2 separate regions of the Homo sapiens genome follow, and region 2 is linked to region 1. Evidence: promoter capture Hi-C in human tissues and cell types (Jung and others, 2019). All regions are on one chromosome and are shown on one strand. Each heading gives the region's core, a stretch centred on a gene start or on the middle of the fragment in contact. The rest is flanking DNA. Distances are from core to core; before and after follow the strand shown.

The links. Contacts are between HindIII fragments. The study calls those that stand out against the background at their distance.
Region 2: a contact is called between a fragment that was not itself captured here and the fragment with the promoter of KCNMA1 in region 1, in 1 of the 25 tissues and cell types used here (bladder).

Annotation. Positions count from the first base shown.
Region 1 is chr10:77,633,640-77,639,422 of GRCh38, forward strand. KCNMA1 (potassium calcium-activated channel subfamily M alpha 1) reads right to left here and starts at 4,169. Exons shown (of 28, transcript NM_001161352.2): 1 at 3,626-4,169. The coding sequence starts at 4,003. The HindIII fragment of the contact is 5,846 bases long and covers 580-5,783 here.
Region 2 is chr10:77,681,038-77,687,045 of GRCh38, forward strand. No RefSeq gene overlaps it. Among named protein-coding and RNA genes, the nearest start is that of KCNMA1, 46 kb to the left of the region's middle. The HindIII fragment of the contact is 5,183 bases long and covers 1-4,539 here.

The sequences.
Region 1 (5,783 bases), core at 2,919-5,418:
AGCCTGACAGAGAAAACGTGTTGTTTTCTCAGGCACAGCCATGGAGACAACATCTCGATAATTCATTACACGCAGACCATCCTTGATCAAGCCCAAGCTTCTACAAGGCCAACAGCTCAAACTGAGAATGGAAATAACTCTATGCCCAGCCACACTCAGGCCCCTCAACAAACCACAGCTCCAACAGGAAGTTGGCCTCAGTTTCCCCAGTTATTTAAAGAGAAGTAGACCACATGCTGGAAGACGAGCAGAAGATGGAAATAAAGATATGTAACTGTCCCAAGGCTGAATTCCTAAAGGAATTGCTAGGGAACTGCAAAACACATTCTGAGCTAGAAACTTTAACCCTCATTCCTCAACTCCTCCCTCTCTCCTATATCGAATCACAGAGCAGGAAGGGACATTAGAACTCACAGAATTCAATCCCCACATTTTATACACAAGGAAAGATAGACACCAGAGAGGTTAAATAACTTCTTCAAAGTCATGGCTTTATTCAGGCTACCAGAGCAGCTCCCTATTCAATATAGTCTATGACAGGATTGAACTTCACAACGTCACACCCAAGTGAATAGAGAGCTCTGATGAAATCCCACAAGGAAAAAAACAATAATGTGAAAAAGTACAGCAAAGAACACAGTACTGGAATGACTGTGACCAAGTTCCCAACAGGAGGAAATTGTAATGTTTTCTTCTTCACTTTCTGAAAAAGTCCACATGCCACTCTTTTCAAAAGACTAAAGTCATTCACTGTTTGAGATTCAGAGGCCAAAGGTACTAATGAAGAGATGTCCCACGATGCATGTCCACAGTCTTGGGTTCCTTTGATCAAAAAGGTTTGGTGCGATCCCAGAGACCAAACGCTCATGAAATTGGAGCTCCTTGCTGAATTTTATCTCCCACAGAATTTCAGACCTGCTTTCCTCTGGACTCCAGCTCTTGATCAAACCATCTTGGGGCTGAAGGAGGGTGAGGGTGAACCCATCTGAGGGCTGGTAGAATTTTCTGGAAAGGCAGCCTATGTTTTCTTGGGAAATCTAGCACAAAAATTATTATTCTAAGCTTAAGCCAAATACATGCCTGTGTATCGAGTCTTGACAAAACTACCAAATACTTGGAAAGAAAAAAGAAAAAAAGACAAACACACACACACACACACACACACACACACACACAATTGCAATAAAAATACAGACCTCAAGCATAGAAAGAAAAGCTTTTAAAAGGCCTAACTTACCGTTACTGCATATAATGAGCTGGCTACCTATGGCTTAAGTGAGCAAATCTAGGGGCAGGTATCAAGAGATTCTAGGTGTGCTTTAAAATGGACTTACGGTATCAAAAGGAACCTGCACTCATTCTATACTGGCCTCACATCTTCCAAACAAACCACCATCACCTCTCATCCCTGGCAGATTTCTTACAGCAACTCACTTCCAGTTATGTCCACTCAGCAGGTCTTGGGGCTACAAAACATAGCCAAATATTTACGAATTGTTTTTTCTAATCGTTGCCAAAAACCTATTTTCTTGAGTAAACTGACAGAAGTTATGCTTGCTCATCATTTAGGAGATCCTTTGTGTGTGCGATGGGATTAGCATTTCATTACAGACACTGCAATTGCATTTATGTACCCCCTAACATAAAAAGACTTTGGAAGCTGTGTTTAGGACCCCAGGTTCACAAAAACACCACAACTTATTTTCAATCATGGAAAAAGTTTTCATTATGATAAAAATTGCCCCCTGCCTGAAAGAAAGCAAGCTGTTAAAAAGTTCACCCAGATCACTCTATCTAGGGAACATTTCAGAGGCACACAACTATGAGCTATCTTTCCCCTAAAGACAGTCGCTGAATCTCAGTAAACCGGGGAACAAAATTCCCGAGACTGTTGGGGGAGGTGGAGGAGAAGGATGGAGAGAGGGAATGTGGGAATTTGAAGGCTCCAGGAATAAGCTGTTCTCAGCAGGAAGGCTAGTCAGGGATCTGGTGTATAGGGCTTTGCTTAACCTGAGGGCTTCTCTGGAAGGTGGGAGGTTTGCCTCCTTAACAAATAAGAAGAAACCTCTACGGCTGAGAAGGTAATTCCAAAGAAAACTCTCCGACCAGCACCTGCAGGCCTCCGGAGAAGCCAGAGAATGACGAAGAGAATGATGGTTTTCATATTTCTCCCTTTGTTCCAATACACCAGTATTTTCCAAAACACAAATGTGCTGCCACAAAACACAGCTGAGCTCCAGCACCCAACAGGATGTATAATTAATGATCAGGAGAGACAGGCTCCTTCCCCCCTGGTGTTTTCATAGCCAGCCTTCACCCATAGCCCCAGGCTTCCCTACTTCTCTCAGCCGCCAAGGAGGCTGCTACAAGTTGCTGTGCCCTGTAGAAGTTTGAGGGGTCCTCGGTTTAACTTTACTAGAAAAGATGTGAACATGTGGAGGCTGCAATGTGTATCTACCCTGCACTATTCCCCTGGATTTCCCTTCCCTCCAAAACGGTTCGCGCGTGAAGTCCCCTAGGATGGGAATTACTCAGAAAGAAGGCAGCTGGCTCACTCTCTTTTTTCCAGTTCTTTCTTTTTTATTCTGCAGTTTTCTATCAGTGTCGGGTCCCCCACTCCAGCCAGTGGCTGTGGGGAAGGGAAGACATCTCTAGGGACACGACTACAGACCAGGCAGTGAGCCTAGCAACCATACATCGAAGGTGTCGCCAGCCTCAGTGCCGGTGGGCGTCTGCACCAGGAATAGCTAAAGCCGACGACATCTAGCCACCTCGAGCGCCAGGGAAGACGCTCCGCGTAAAACCGCGGCCTCAGGCGGACTCCCGCTCCAGCTCCGCGCTGCTGGTGGCATTTCCGGGGACCCAAAGTGGGTGGCCTGGGGGCAAAGGAACAGAGGCCGAAGAACTTGGGGTATGTTCCACTAGAGCACCTAAGGGACGGAGTGGGAGGTTACATCAGATATGCGACCTCGACACATTCCAAAAGTGGCAGCCCCGTGGGCTACCCCCAATAGTGGGATGGATCTCCCCAACTTCTCTCGCCCCTCGAAGTCCCCCTGTTATCTCGGGCCATGCTCCTCCCCCGGGATTCCCTTGTGCAAAATTATTCTCTCCCTTGCCCAAAGGATTTTTCCCTTCTTTCTGACCCCACGAACTCATCTCCCCAACAGGTTCCTAAAGTATGGGCGGATGTGCTCCCTCTCGCCCACCGCCAGGAGCCGAGCCCCGGCAGGTGAGCGGTGCAAAACACGCACCCAGCTGCCCCCAGCTTCCTCCGTCCCCGCTGAGTTGGCTGTCCCCACCCCGCACCACGGCACCCGAGCCTGTGAGTCCCCGACCCCGGCCCCAGCCGCAGCCGCCAACAACCCTACAATAAACAAGAGGACAGGATTGAGCGTCCGCGTCCCGGAGCGCACTGGCTGGGGGCAACTCCTCACCCCCGGCGCGCCGCCCGCTGCCCCGATCCGAGAGCACCGGGAGAGCCGAGGGAAGGGAAGGCGGCGAGGGGAAGGCAGGCGGGGATGGAGGGAGGCACGGCGCGGCGCGGAGCGAGGAGGTGGGCTGCAGGGGACGCCGAGAAGCGGTGGGGCTGGCGCAGAGGGCGGGCGCCCGGGGCGCGCGTTACCTTCGTCTTGCCCCCGCAGTGGCAGCACACGGTCCACAGGTACTTGAGCGTCCGCCAGAGCAAGATGATGAAGAGGCCCCCGAAGAAAGTCACCATGGAGGAGGCCAGGAAAGCCCACCACATGCGTTGGCCCCGGCTGTCGCACGGCACCTCCATGGTCACCGGGATGATGAGCGCATCCATCTTGGGCTCGTGGACCGAGGACGAGGAGGAAGAGGAGGAGGAAGAAGAAGAAGAGGAAGAGGAGGAGGAGGAGGAGGAGGACGCGTCTAGGCTGAGATGGTTCGCGTGGATATTGCTACTCATTCTAAGACTGCTGCCTCCGCCGCCGCCGCCGCCGCCGCTGCTGCCGCCGCCGCCGCCGCCACCATTTGCCATAGCTAGCAACGGGCAGCCGGCGCAGGGGCTCGGGGGAGCTCCTCCCGCCGCCAGCGCCACCCCAAACACCCATCAACAGCCATATTGCTGCTACTGCTGCCGCCGCCGCCGCCGCCGCGGAGCGCGGGAGGGGGGCGGGGAGGCGCCTGGGCTCGGGGCGCTGTGCGCGACCTGGCGGGGTGCGCCGAGATATATACAGCGAGCCGCCGCCGCCCGCCCGGGGGGGAGGGGGATGGAGTGCGCGGGCAGCTCCCCCTCCCCGGCCCGCGCCCCGCTCGCCCCGGGCTGCGCTGGCCCCGAGCGCCGAGAGCCAGGGGGCGCCGCGGGCCGCCCGCGCCCGGGGTCTGCGCCGCCCCCGGGCCCGCCCCGGCTCCGCGCGCGGTCCCGGGTGTCCTCGGCGCCGCGCCGCCCGCCGTGCGCCACGGGTGTGCGCTGCGCTCGGCCGGTGACCCCCTTCCCCGAGCGCCTCCCGCGCGGCTAACGAGCCGCTCTCCGCTTATTAGGTGGTAACTCGTTAATAATGGATAATCGGCCCCCTCCGCCCGGGCGCCCCTGCGCCAGCCCTCCTCCCCCGGCTGCGCTCGGCTCCGGCTCGCCGCGCCAGTGCGCGCCCGGCCGCGGCAGGTTCACCGCGTCCGGCCGCCGGCCCGTGGCCGCCTGCTAGCCCATGTTCTCGGGACCCCCTAGTCCTGTCGCCACGCCGCTGAGCCCCTCGGCCTCCGCTCGCTCTTCCTCCTTGCCGCCTCCGACTCCTCCTCGTCCCCGTCCTCGCCGCCCAAGCCTCTTCGGCGCGCGCCCCGCGCTCCCCGCAGCCGCCAGCAGCAGCAGCTGCAGCAACTGGAGCGGGCGCGGACTCAGGACGACCCAGGCGGGAGGGGAGGAGGCTCGCCGCGCTGGCTCGCCTGGGCTCCGGGCTGGGCAGGGGTGGGCAGGGCCCCTCGGCAGCGGCCCGGCAAGCGCCCCTGACCCCCAGGGCGCAAGGTAGAGCGCCCCCAGCCCAGGCGCGGGGCCAGGCGCCTCTCTCCAAGGTGCTGCGCCCCCAGCCGAGAGCGGTGGGGTACACTGGGAGGACGGCGGGGCGCCCCGGTCAGGCCGTTTTTTTCCCCAAAGAGCCCCCAGTGGGGAGGGGAGGAGTGGCCAGCTGTCAACTGGATTCCACAGGCTGAGCTCCCCAGGACCCTCGGGCTTCGGGAGTGAGGAGGACCCCACGCCAGGATACACACAGCTACCCACCCCTACTTCGCTCTTCCTGCTACCTATGTGCCCAGGGTCCCGCGTGTGGCTGGAGGGTAGAGTCAGGAAGGCCAGCGGGTGGTCTGTGGCCTCTGACAGCAGCAGGTGGTTTCTCTCCTTTTTCCTTATTAGCAACAGAGGCTGCCCAACAAAGAGTAGGCAGAAATGATCAAGGACGACCTGGCCTGGGGATAGTGCAGGCCCCGATAGACAATAGAGTTCCCTGAAGGGTTGCTTTCCTCTCATATAGTCTCAGACTCCATCCATCCCGTGAGGAGGGCAGATGGGGGAAGAGGGACTCCAGACTTCATTCTGGCTCACCGTTCCCCATTTAGGGTCTTCCCTTCTCCCCACTTAAGATGAAGAAGGAGTCCGTGTTTGTTCCGTAGCGTGTCTCCGTACACCACCAGGGGAATCCCCCTTCTGACACTTTCAGAAACTTTGCGCCCCCTGAACAGCGTCCGTCCTCGTGCTACCAGCTGGACCCCAAGTTTTTCCAGCGCTAATTAAATCGAGGATGATCACGCTCTTCCCTCATTGCTGCAGT
Region 2 (6,008 bases), core at 698-3,197, 45 kb after region 1:
ACAGCGGTGGCCTGGCCTGGTTCTCTGGTTCTCCTATTTATTGTCTACAAATGCTAGCTTAGCCGAGTCACTTCTCCTTGCTAGATTTCAGTTTCTCCTTCCTGGAAAAGAAGAAGATTGGACTAGATAGGATCTACTTTTCAGCCTTTTCATTCAGCAGGTATTTTGAGAGGGCCTGTTGTGTGCATGGCCCCGGTCTAAGCAGTAGGTTGGGTAGAGCCGTGAGTGAGGCACACCAAGTCTTACCAGCTTTCTGATTAGCAGAACATTCTAGCAGCCTAGGTTCTTGGATTTCTGAGGGTCCTTGGTGCATTTCTCCAGCTCCTGAGGCCTCGCTCCTGGTTTCTGCTTGGGGGTACTTCCAGCTTCTGAGCCAAAGATACTGAGACCAGCCTTGGGTGGTCTGCCCTTTGCAAAGAAATTCACAGCTCACCAGGGTCAGGGGGTAAATGTGACCAAACCCCAGTCACTCACTGCCTACCTCCCTCTCTGCCCCACAATGGGGATGCTGACGGGGCTGGGCACAATGTAGTGAATTCTTATAATTTATGCTGCCTCAGGATCCATTTTGGTTTTTGTTGTTGGTTTTGTTTTTGTTTGTTTGTTTGTTTGTTGAGATGGAGTCTCGCTCTGTCACCCAGGCTAGAGTGCAGTGGTGCAATCTTGGCTCACTGCAACCTCCATTTCCTGGGTTCAAGTGATTCTCCTGCCTCAGCCTCCCGAGTAGCTGGGATTACAGGTGCCCGTCACCATGCCTGGCTAATTTTTGTATTTTTAGTAGACACAGGGTTTCACCATGTTGCCCAGGCTGGTCTCGAACTCCTGACCTCAAGTGACCCACCCTCGGCATCCATTTTAAATATAAGCTTACTTTTCTCACACCAGAAGCAGGGCTCAGTTATCCTTGACACAGTCTCTCCTGCTACACCTCCCCGCCGTCCTTCAATGTCATACACAGCTGCTCCCTGGTGCTCACCTCCCCACGGGACAGCTAGAGACAACCTATTCAGCCCGCTAACTTTCACCCCCTACACAGACTGCAGATATGCCACAGTGACCCCCTCTCAGTCACAGCATGACCTCCTGGAACTCATGCCTGCTTGCTCTTTTGCATTTAAACCCACCAATTAAAATTCCCTATGGGAAATGTGCATGGATAATGCCCTGGGCTTCAATAAAAGCCCTGATGCATAGGGGGCCCCCCACTTTCTCTTTCTTTGTGCACCCCCTGATCATTCCCTCTCTGTTGTGGAGGAGGGGCTCTAGGCATGCCGTGAACTTCCCAAGACCTGTAAGTAATAAAACCTTTATTTCTATCTTGTGTCTCTCCTAATCGTTGAAGGGGCAACCTCTATTATAAAGACCTGAAATTAAAACACATGGGAAGCAGTGGCTCTGAGCTTGGGGAGCCAGGTTCCTGACTGTCAAGCCCTTGCCACAGCCAAGAGGTTGCTCAGGGGCTGCCAGGGGTGGGTGCAGATTCCCACACAGTTACCTAGGAGAAAGGCATCAAGAGGGATAGAAGGAATGTACTCCGGGAAGGCCAGCTTCAAGGGCATGAGGTCATGAGCCACCCAGACTGAGGACAGCCCTATGGGGACAGACAGATGACAGAGTGGGTCCTGAAAAACTGTTCTTGTATCCACTGTAATGGGCTGGCTAGCTTGTGGCCAACCCAAATTTCTCAGGCATGCACCAAGAAGAATGGACCCAATGAATAAAAGCTGTGGCAGCCAGATCTCAGAGCACAAAATCCAACTCATGCCAAATTCATATCCGCTGTACATTTAGAAGGACCATAGCATCGCAGTCAAGATCATAAGCATTGCGGCCGCTTGCCTGGGTTCAGATTCTGGCTTTACCACCTGCTAGCTGTGTGATTCTGGACAAGTTACTTAACCTCTCTGTGCCTCAGTTTTCTCATCTACAAAACAGAGATAATAATAATAACTCCCACCTAATAGGGTTGACAGAAGAGAGACAGACCCTCTCATATTGTCTTATATTGTTTTATACTCAGTACCTGTTTTAAGAAAAAACAACAAGGAAGTAAAACCAAAGACAGGCAGCCCGGCGCCAGGCCCGAAACCTGGCTTGGGCCTGCCTGGCCTAAAGCCAGTAGTTAAAAATCAACTCATAACTTAGAAACCGATGTTATTCATAGATTCCAGACATTGTATAGAAGAACATTATGAAACTCCCTGCCCTGTTCTGTTTCTGTCTGACCACCTGTGCATGCAGCCCCTGTCACATACCGCCTGCTTACTCAAATCAATCACGACCCTTTCATGTGAAATCTTTAGTGTTGTGAGCCCTTAAAAGGGACAGAAATTGTGCATTCAGGGAGCTCGGATTTTGAGGCAGTAGCTTGCCGATGCTCCCAGCTGAATAAAGCCCTTCCTTCTACAACTCAGTGTCTGAGAGGTTTTGTCTGTGGCTCGTCCTGCTCCAGGGTTATGGTGAGAATCAAATTGCTATTATATTGTATTAGAACAGTGAACAGCACATAGTCAACGCCACCACATAAGTGGTGTTGCTACTTCTTTGTGACAATCACCCCTTATTTTATGTAGCATATAAAGCTTACAAATTCCCTCCAAATTCATTGTTTGAAACACAAACTTGTTGACTTTGTTCATTCATCCACTAGATTGTAAGTGTTATGCAGGTAGGGAAATGTTAGTTGTTTTATTCACTACTGTGTCCTTGAAGCCCATGACAGTGCCTGACACAAAGTAGTTGCTCAATAAATATTTGTTGATTAGATGGATAGATAGATGGGTGGATGAATTCAACAAACATTTATAGAAGCCTATTATATGCCAGGCACTGAGGATTCAAAGGTTAAAAACCGTGGTACTTGCCCTTTGAAAAAGACTTGAATTGACTCATAATTCACTTCTATAATGATGAAATGCATTACTCTGGAATTATCAGCCATGAGAGTGGTGGTACTCAGTGCTGATTTTGCCCCCATAACCTGAGGAACTAGACACAACTCAAGCAGGGATAGTGGCCCTACATCAGGGAGCCTTCCCCCAAAAGGCTGGAGGGAGGGAATGGTAGGCACGTGCCCTGAAAATCACTGTCTTGTTGGCTCTGTTGGCGATATGAATGTCTATCATCTATCTGGTACTATGATGGTTTTTTGTTTTTTTTTTTTTGAGGCAGAGTCTCGCTCTCGCCCAGGCTGGAGTGCAGTGGCGTGATCTTGGCTCACTGCAAGCTCCGCCTCCTGGGTTCACGCCATTCTCCTGCCTCACCCTCCCAAGTAGCTGGGACTACAGGCGCCCGCTACTATGCCCAGCTAATTATTTTGTATTTTTAGTAGAGACGGGGTTTCACCATGTTAGCCAGGATGGTCTTGATCTCCTGACCTCGTGATCTGCCCGCCTCGGCCTCCCAAAGTGCTGGGATTACAGGCGTGAGCCACCACGCCCAGCCCTATGATGGATTTTGTTTTGTTTTTTACTATTGTGTCTTAAATGAACTGGTTCCACATTTCCATGTCATCCTCTCTGCCCTCATCTTTTAAAGTCTATTTAAAAAACAGACTTCCCAAAAAGCTGTGGCCTGAGCTTTTTGTATCATCTATAACACACTGTCCCATACTGTCATTATGTCCAATAGAGTTTTCATACAGTGAATCTGAACAAATCCCTCTCTCCCTAGACACAGTAGGAGGGAATGGTAGAAGATTCCCTTTCCCCACATCATTGCTCCTCTTGTTTTTTGGCATTGTGGGTAAAGCAGGGACTTGGGAATTGAGGCTTGAGTTTAAATTCCAGGTGTGCATTAAGTAAATAAAAATCAAAACTACAAGGAGATACCACTTCACAGTCTCTAGGATGACTGAAACAAAAAGACAGACGATGAGTGTTCGCAAGGATGTAGAGAAGCTGGAACCCTCAGACATTGTTTGTGGGAATGTACAATGCTACAGCTGCATGGAAACCAATCTGACAGTTTCTCAAAAAGTTAAACATGAAGTTACCGTAGGACCCAGGTATATACCACTCCTAGGTATATACCCAAGAGAAATGAGAACATGTACTTCCACACAGAAATCTATACACAAATGTTCATAGCAGTGTTATTCATAATAGCCAAAAAGTGGAAACAATCCAAATGTCAATCAACTGAGGAATGGATAATTAAAACTTGGTATATCCATACGACAGAAGATAATCATTCATCCCTAAAAAGGAATGAAGTTCTGATACATGGATTGACCTTGAAAATATTATGCTAAGTGAAAGAAGCCAGACACAAAAGGCCACATGTGATTCCATTTCTATGAGATGCCCAGAATAGGCCAATTCACAGAGACAGAAAGGAGATAGTGGTTTCCAGAAGGAAAGCCATCCCCAAAATGCATCTGGTTTAAACATGGTCATCTTATTAAGTTCTTACCATAGCCTGGAAAAAAAAATACAATTCTATTTAAAACTCACCAGGGATTGCCTGGTTAAAGGATTCATTATAGAAACTCTTCCTGTGTTAAGAGCATAATTACCTACTAATTTACCTTCCACTCCTCCGGCCTAATTTTCCCATCATGAACTTGTTTCAAGCCAGCTGTTGCTGTATTCTGACATAGGTGCTGTGCTTAGTATGAGTGGGCATCATGCTGCTGACCGCCTGCTGGTGAAAACGTTTCAAAGCATTCTGCCAAGTTTTAAACAAAGCCTCAAATGAAACCTGCCTCTCTGACTGTATCACTCTCAGTGATAAATTGGCTTCCCCCACCCCCCCCCACCTTCTTTTGAAGGTGTCCCTGAACGAAATCAAATAATAACAGGCTCCATCTCAAAAGCCCAAGTAAGGAGGCAGACAATAATCTTTCATCAGAATCCTATTTTTCAAACCAACATTTAGCCTGCATAAAGCTCTCAATGGGGCAAGACCCGGAAGCAGGGTGATGGGGAGAAGAGCAAGGCCCAGAGGACAGTTTGGAGGCAGAAGCTCAATAGTGGAGTGTACTCCTCCTGCCAGGCCGACAGGTGCTTCCCGTGGAAGGAGCTGATGCCAGCATGAACCCCTTCCCTTCCCTGGATGATGGCTGGTGAAAGGCAACGCCTGACAAATCCTCCAGGAATAGAAGAATCCTGTAGGGGCCAATGGATTGAATGGAAGGAATGCTACAGCACCAAGGAGCCTAGCAATTGTTCTCCAACCAGAAAACTTGTTTTACAAATTGGGGAACAGCATTTGTGGTGAGGAAAGGGAGAGTCTTCCCCCCAGGCCACAGGAGATGGCAGGGAAAGAAACAATCAAGAGCTAAGCCACCTGTGGGGATTTGTAGTGGGGCCCACAAGGGCCATTAGCGGGAAACACAGTGCGAGGCTGTTTACCTCTCAGTTCATCCCCAAGCCTTCTGATTGTCTTAAAGAAAAAGCCTTATTTGGAGGTGGTCTCTCTTTAGGATTGAACATTTGCTATCTCAATTTTGACATGGACCACGACACCGGCAGTAGTTCCAAGCTAGGATGAACACTGGTTGAGTTTGCTGTGGTGGGTGTAGTGATTGTTAAGGGTTATCCTCTATTTATGATTCATGATTATTCTTTCTTTCCCTTATGATATTGATTTCAAGTTTTCCTTAATCATATAGCTATTTGTGTCCAAAACGTGGTCACAGATAGGTCAAAAATCTGAAAGAGGAGTGAGAAACACTAATCTAGTCGAAACCTATACTAATGGTGTGAATCGCCAATCCATTCCTCTTTTGAAACACACACACACACACACACACACACACACACGCACGCACGCTCTCAAGGGGCCTTTACCCAGTGAACCAAAAAGGTTTCCCTTTCCACATGTGTTCCATGAGGAGATTCCCTGCCTATCACTTTCTTGCCTTGCCAAGGTGCATTTTCATGGATCCCTGTGTTCTCCCTGCTGCCAGAAGTGTCCCTGGTCCCCTCCCATACTGAGCCTGCTTCCTCCCCATCAGCTTCAGGAACGCTGCTCCCTCCTGCAACTCTGGGGGTCAGCTCCCAGTT